2 separate regions of the Homo sapiens genome follow, and region 2 is linked to region 1. Evidence: promoter capture Hi-C in 16 types of primary human blood cells and fetal thymus (Javierre and others, 2016). All regions are on one chromosome and are shown on one strand. The core of a region is centred on a gene start or on the middle of the fragment in contact, and the rest is flanking DNA. Distances in the headings are between cores, read along the strand shown. Region 1 holds the start of TMEM50B (transmembrane protein 50B). Region 2 holds the start of MRAP-AS1 (MRAP antisense RNA 1).

What was found. Contacts are between HindIII fragments. The CHiCAGO score rates a contact against its expected background, and 5 or more counts as called.
Region 2: the fragment with the promoter of MRAP-AS1 here is called in contact with the fragment with the promoter of TMEM50B in region 1 in 1 of 17 cell types (activated CD4 T cells); the score reaches 5.4 in activated CD4 T cells.

The regions. Positions count from the first base shown.
Region 1 is chr21:33,477,957-33,481,406 of GRCh38, forward strand. TMEM50B (transmembrane protein 50B) reads right to left here and starts at 2,018. Exons shown (of 7, transcript NM_006134.7): 1 at 1,882-2,018. The HindIII fragment of the contact is 5,416 bases long and covers 1-3,450 here.
Region 2 is chr21:32,307,096-32,311,067 of GRCh38, forward strand. It overlaps MRAP-AS1 (MRAP antisense RNA 1), which reads right to left and starts at 1,640. Exons shown (of 2, transcript NR_187556.1): 1 at 1,424-1,640. The region is part of intron 2 of MRAP (melanocortin 2 receptor accessory protein); the gene reads left to right. It overlaps URB1 (URB1 ribosome biogenesis factor), which reads right to left. Exons shown (of 39, transcript NM_014825.3): 39 at 3,923-3,972. The HindIII fragment of the contact is 11,077 bases long and covers 1-3,972 here.

The DNA of each region.
Region 1 (3,450 bases), core at 768-3,267:
AAACCCGTCTTTACTAAAAATACAAAAAATTAGCCGGGCGTGGTGGTGGGCGCCTGTAGTCCCAACTACTAGGGAGGCTGAGGCAGGAGAATGGCGTGAACCCAGGACGTGGAGCTTGCAGTGAGCCGAGATCTTGCCACTGCACTCCAGCCTGGGAGACAGAGCAAGACTCTGTCTCAAAAAATAAATAAATAAATAAATTTAAAAATAATAATAATACACTTTAAAAGGCCAGGCGCGGTGCCCACACCTGTAATCCCAGTACTTTCAGAGACCGAGGCAAGCGGATCACTTGAGGTCAGGAGTTCAAGACCAGCCTGGCCAACATGGTGAAACTCTCTCTCTACTAAGAATATAAAAATTAGCCAGGCATGGTGGCAGGCGCCTGTGATCCCAGCTACTCGGGAGGCTGAGGCTGTAAAATCCCTTTAACCCTAGAGGTGCAGGCTGCAGTGAGCAGAGATCGGGCCACTGTACTTGTAGCCTGGTCAACGAGGGAGACTCTGTCTCAAAAAAAACAGAAAAGGAAAATGAGGATAAAATACGATAAATTCTTTACCTTGGCCCCCAGAAGTGAATTCAGAATTCAGAAAAGACTAGCCAGTGTAAGGCTGCTGTAACCCTAGTTGACAGAGAGGAGGGATTGGGGTGGTGAGTGGGAAGGCTGTGTCTCCGGAAGAAGAAATATACGTCCCCACCTCACTCTAATTAAACCTGCTTTTCCAGCGCGATAAATATTCAAGATAACTTTTGGTTTGCATTTCAATAACAAAGTCTTGCACCACTATCTTCAGTTTAAAAAAAAAGTTTAATGTTTGCTCTACGTTTGAAATGCATGCAGGTTTAAAAGACAAGAAACAAAATGATGAAAAAGTGTGACCGGCCTGAGAGTTCAGAGCCTCTGAAGTGTCAAGGGATCCACAGTGCAGGTAGGATGAAGAGTCTGAGAAGGGAGATGGGATCCTCCGAAAAGAGAAAATCGGGTCTTACAGCGCGATGTAAGACGATGCGGATGCCACTTCCCTCCCACCCCGTCCCGTCCGAGGCCTCCGCCCCCTGCCCCTCCGCACCCCCCGACCCAGGCACGCGCAGCGGGGAGCAGCCCAGCCTAGCCCGTCTCACTGCTTTGGTTTTGAAAGGTCACGTATTTACCTTAGAATTTCAGCACCTTCCAACTTACTGTTTTAAGTACCTTTAACCAGCCTATTGGCTAAAAACCGAAACGGTCCTACCCGCGACTACCACTGCTCCAGTGACAATGCTCTGCTGCTACTTATTTAACGGAGCTCAAGGTTTATAATTCTCGAAAGAATGTTGTTCCCCTTCCCTTTCCCCTCCCGCCTCTGTACTTGACTCTCGTAAGAATGAAATCAGAAAAGTGCAGAAAACACAGGCTCCTAGCAATGGTTCGGGGCAAACGGGAGGGGCGAAGAAGGGCTGGAGCCGCCCCGGGGCCCTCGCTCCGGCCTCGGGAGGGCGTCGCGGCCGCAGCAGGGCGTCCCGAAAACCGTCGCCTCCGTGCCCGCCGCGCGAGAAGGTGAAAGGCACGAGATGGAGCCTCTCCAGCCCTCCCCAGGAACGCAACCTGACGGCGTGACAGCGCGGCAGGGCAGCCTCCCCGGGCTGCTTGCGGGTCGCGGCGGCGCCACGGTCACGGTCGGCCCGAAGGGACGCGGGCAGGGGCAAGAAGGGGCGGCGGGGGCTCCGCGGGCCCGAGTCTGCAGGCCGGCGCCGAACGCAGGGAAAACCCGGCTGGACGGCCCCACAGCCCCCAGAAGGCCGGGCCGGACAGGGCCCGACGAGGGAGCCTCCTTACGCGCGGGCGGCGGGCGCGAGCCCTCTACGGTTGCCTGGCGCCGGAGACCCACAGACAGGACTCACCCAGCTTCCTCAAACGCCCACGCCGACTTCAGGCGCGCGCGCAGGAAGGAGACTGCTGCGCCACAACCCTGCCGGCGTCCCGCGGCTCCACCTCAGCCCCGGGAGCCCGGAGCTGGGAGCAGACGCGAGGATAGAGCGCCGGTGAGGCGGGGCGAGGCGCCGTGTGCACCGCAGCGACCAATCGGAGCGCAGCAAGTGGCCGGCCGGGGGCGGGGCGGGACGCGAGGGGGCGGGGAGAGGGCGTTGGCTGGGCGCAGCGGGACGCCGGGCGCTCCTCGCGACCAATCGGCGTGCAGCAAGTGGCCGGCCGGGGGCAGGGCGAGCTCCGAGGGACGGGGTGGGCTGCTCTGCAGGCCTCCCGGAGCCGGAGTTCAGACCCAGCTATCTACGGTTCCGGGCAGAGCGGGACGGGCCTCTCCTGTCCCCTGCCGGTGGGCGGCCGCCGCCGGGCTCCCACTGCTGCGTTTCTGCACGCTGACTTGAAGTGCAGTACCGTGAGATTACGTGCGGACGGAGCTCGAGACCCGGGGGACCAGGGTTTCCCTTCGCCTATGGCCGATCAGTCTTGTCTGTCTGCGAGCTGCCCAGAGTAGGGAAGGTGCTCCGGGAGGGTTCTCGGGAACGGAGGGTCTTTAGAGATGCCTTTTTCTAATCCCCTCAATTCAGAAATGGAGCCCCAGAAAGTTGAAGTTAGTAAACCAGGGCTACCCAGCGAGTGCTGGTTACCCGAGGTGATCCTCACAATACAACTAGTCTTCTGATTTCGCTCGGCGCTCTCCCGTCTATTCACGTAGATTTTTGTCTTTTTTTTTTTTTTTCGTCTTTCTTATAGTCAGATATCTTTCAGCCTCTTGGATTTTCAACATAACTTTAACAGCGTTTGGAAGCCCCGTCTAAATTTCCTACAGAAATGCCTATAACCATTTAGTTGTTTGGGGGAAAGTCGAGCTTTGTTTTTTGGGTGGTTTGTTTGTTTGTTTTGAGACAGGGTCTTGCTCTGTTGTCCAGGGTGGAGTGCAGTGGTGTGATCTTGGCTCACTGCAGCCTCTTACCTCCCACGCTCAATCAATCCTCCCACCTCAGCCTTCCGAGTAGCTGGGATTACAGGTGCGCACCACCATGCTTGGCTAATTTGTGTATTTTTAGTAGAGACGGGATTTCACCTGGCTGATCCTGAACTCCTGACCTCAGGTGATCCACCCGCCTCTGCCTCCCAAAATGCTGGGATTACAAGCGTGGGCCACTGTGCCCAGCCAAGTAGAGTTATTATCAGTGGAAATCTAAAAAGCATTTTACTTGAGGCATAATGAAGTAAAAGGTTTTGTATCATGGAATTATCACCAAAAATGCCATCCTGGATAATGTTCTCCTATAGCTCTTATACATGGGCTAGGATCTAGGTGTTCAATAAATATGTGCTGAATAATTTACTTTTGAAATATGTCACAATGCTGGCATTCCACCAGAAGAGAGGATACAGAAGGGAACACTCTCCTCTCTTTAAGAACCTTTTGAAAGGGGCGGGGGTTGCATGTACCATTTTTGTTTTCATTCTGCTAGTAAAATAGT
Region 2 (3,972 bases), core at 390-2,889, 1.2 Mb before region 1:
CATGCTAAGTGAAAGAAGACAGACACAGAGCTGCATGTTGTATGACTCCATTCACACAAAACATCCAGAGTAGGCAAATCAAATTCTGTAGAGACAGAAAGCAGATTAGCAGCTGCCTAGGTCTGGGGGGAGAGCGGGGAAGGGGGAATGACTACTGATGGGTTTCTTTTGGGGATGATAAAAATGTTCTAAAATTAAGCTGGGCGTGGTGGCTCACGCCTGTAATCCCAGCACTTTGGGAGGCTGAGATGGGTGGATCACTTGAGGTCAGGAGTTCAAGTTACCAGCCTAGCCAACTTGGTGAAACCCTGTCTCTACTAAAAATACAAAAATTAGCCGGGCGTGGTGGCACGCACTTGTAATCCCAGCTACTCAGGAGGCTGAGGCAGGAGAATTGCTGGAACCCAGGTGGCGGAGGTTGCAGTGAGCCGAGACTGTGCCACTACACTCCAGTCTGGGCAACAGAGTGAGACTCCGTCTCAAAAAAAAAAAAAAAAAAGAAGTTCTAAAATTAAGCCAGGCCCAGTAGCTCACACCTGCTGTAATCCCAGCACCTTGGGAAGCCAAGGCAGGAGGATCGCTTGAGCCCAGGGGTTCGAGACCCTATCTCCATAAAAAATAACAAAAAGTTAGCTGGGCATGGTAGTGCGCACCTGTAGTCCCGGCTACTCAGGAGGCTGAGGCAGGAGGATCACTAGAGCCCAGCAGGTCAAGGCTGCAGTGAGCTGTGATTGCGCCACTGCACTCTAGCCTGGGTGATAGAACAAGACCCTGTCTCAACAAACAAACAAAAAGTTCTAAAATTAGATTATGGTGATGGTTGCACAACTCTATGGATGTACTGAAGACCACTGAAATTGTACTCTTTAAATGAGTCAACCTCATGGAATGAAAATATATCTCACTAAAGCTGTTAAAGAAAATGAAGCCAACTTGACACCATGGGCATTAAGTCTTGCCGGCCAGCTCACCAGGAACATAAGAACCTTACCTTTGGCCAGGTGTGGGGGCTCACACCTGTAATCCCCGCACTTTGGGAGGCCAAGGTGGGCGGATCACCTGAGATCAGGCCTTTGAGACCAGACTGGCCAACATGGTGAAACCCCATCTCTACTGAAAATATTTTTAAAAAATCAGCCAGGTGTGGTGGTGTATGCCTGTAATCCCAGCTACTCGTGAGGCCAAGCAGGAGAATCGCTTGAACGCAGGAGGCAGAGGTTGCAGTGAACCGAGATTGCACCACTGCACTCCAGCCTGGGCAAGAAGAGAGAAACTCTGTCTCCAAAAAGAAAAAAAAAAGAAAAAAGAAAAAGAAAGATCCTTACCTTAGGCACCTATGGCCAGCATCTGTTCTCAGATGCCTGCTGTGTGCCACTAAATTGGAGGTGAAATCCAGGAGTTTTAAGGAGTAATTGGAACCCACCTTGTTTTATGTTAATTCTGTTGTGCTAGAGGATTGGCTGACACATCCAATGTTCCCTTCTAGGCTAATCAGCCCTCACAGCTGCTGCTCTCCTAATGACTGTTCTTAGGAGGGACCCTATATTTTGCCATCGCTCACCCGAAGAGGGCCTGTCCAGTGGCTGGCCCATGCCCTTGGAAACGTGTGCCCTGGCAAAAGAGCTGGGACTGGTCAGATTCTCATCTTTGGAATTTGGAATCTAGAACCTGAGGGATGGACCTGGTGGCTATGGGGGCTGCACTGATTGGTCCAGGAGGAGGACTAGGGCTGGGTGCCATTATAGACCATTATGTCCATTACGGACGGAAGTCTTGGGGACTGGAAACCCTAAGCGTAGGAAGCTGGTCAGCAGAGAGATGAGCCAAACTGTGCTGAGGAAGAGCTGAGTGGCCTTGGAGCCCCTGAGCCAGTGCGTCCCATGCCAGGTCCCGTGAAGAGCCGTGGACTCGCGCATTGGCACAGCGTCTTAGTGTTTTCTGTTGCTGTAACAGAATACCTGAGGCTGAGTAATTTATGAAGAAAAGAGGCTTATTTAGCTCATGGTTCTGAAGGCTTAGAAGTCTAGGAAGCATGGCACCGACATCTGCTTAGCTTCTGGTGAGGGCCTCATTTTGTAAAAAGATCTAATTCAGTCTAGAGAAAAAAAAAACTCATTACCTCTTAAAGGTCCCAGCTCCCAGTGTTGCCACACTGGGGACCAGGTCTCCACGAGTTTTGGTGGGGACAAACCATACCACAGCCCAACATTACCTTGAAGGGGCCTCTGATTCTCCTCCCCGCCCCTGCCTGCCCTGCCCGTGGTGTCTCACCCACCAGGGCTACACTCGCCAGGCCATTTCCGCTCACCTTTGGTCACATATGGAAGGTAGCTTTAGAGCAATGAAGAAATTCATTTTTTTTTTTTTGTTTTTGAGACAAGAATCTCGCTGTGTCACCCAGGCTGGAGTGCAGTGGCGTGATCTCGGCTCACTGCAACCTCCACCTCCCAAGTTCAAGCTATTCTCTTGCCTCAGCCTCCCGAGTAGCTGGGATTACAGGCACCCGCCACGACGCACAGCTAATTTTTGTATTTTTAGTAGAGACAGGGTTTTGCCAAGTTGGCCAGGCCAGTCTCAAACTCCAGACCTGTAATCCTAGCACTTTGAGAGGCCGAGGTGGGTGGATCACCTGGGGTCAGGAGTTCGAGACTGGCCTGGCCAGCTTGGCGAAACCCTGTCTCTATTAAAAATACAAAAATTAGCTGGGCATCGTGGCCGGTGCCTGTAATCCCAGCTACTCGGGAGGCTGAGGCAAGAGAATCGCTTGAACCTGGGAGGCAGAGGTTGCAGTTAGCCGAGATGGCATCACTGAGGTCAGGAGCCACTGTGCACAGCCTGAAATCTGTTCTTTTCTTTCAGTTTTTAGAACTCACATTCAATTTAAGCACATTTTTATACCCAAGACACATCTGAGGGATAAACGAGTGATGTCACCTTTCTTTACTACTCTTCTGAGATGACCTGCAGCCGCCCTATGCCAGGGAAGGTGCAAAGATCCCTGGTCTGGTCCGGCAAGCCCAGGGGCTGCCTCCACCACGCCCAGCTCCCTGGGGGGCACAGGCCTTCTGGGCTATTTCACAGGGGCAAACTGATGACACTATACATCCTGACCAGCTACATGGCTTACTAAAGAAAATGCTCTCAAGGCACTTGGTAACATTCCTGGAATGCTCAGGGCGGCAAAGTGGATCCTCAGCAAGATTTAGGAGTCATTCCCTGAGGAGCTGACACCTTCCCATGATGGGGGGGGGAGGGGAGGAGGGAGGTGGGGAGAGCATTCTTAGGCGAGTGCCATCTGAAAGCATGGCCTCTGCCCAGTGGGTTCATCACTTGGTACTCTTCATTTGTGCCAGCGCTGTAACCACATTTAAGTCGTTTTATACATCATCTCATTTCATCCTGAGGATATCTGTGAGCCAATATTGTCCCATTTTATGGATGACGTTAAAGGCAGCTGGGAAGTGGTGGCCAGAGCTCACTCCAGATGGCCATGTCCACTGCCCCAGCACTTCCCGGGCAGGAGAATCCACCCAGGGAGGACACATTTCTTTTTTTTTTCTTTTTTTTTTTGAGACTGAGTCTTGCTCTGTTGCCAGGCTGGGGTGCAGTGGCGCAATCTTGGCTCGCTGCAACTTCCGACTCCTTGGTTCAAGTGATTCTCCTGCCTCAGCCTCCTGAGTAGCTGGGATTACAGGCGCCCACCACCACACCCAGCTAATTTTTGTATTTTCAGTAGAGACGGGGTTTCCCTATGTTGGCCAGGATTGTCTCGATCTCCTGACCTCATGATCCACCTGCCTCTGCCTCCCAAAGTGCTAGGATTACAGGTGTGAACCTCCATGCTTGGCACAGGGAGGATGCATCTCTAGCCAAGTGTTTTAGTTTGTTCTCGGCTGCTAAGAAAGACATATCCGAGGCTGGATAATTTATAAAGGAAAGAGGTTTAATGGACTCACAGTTTCACATGGCGGG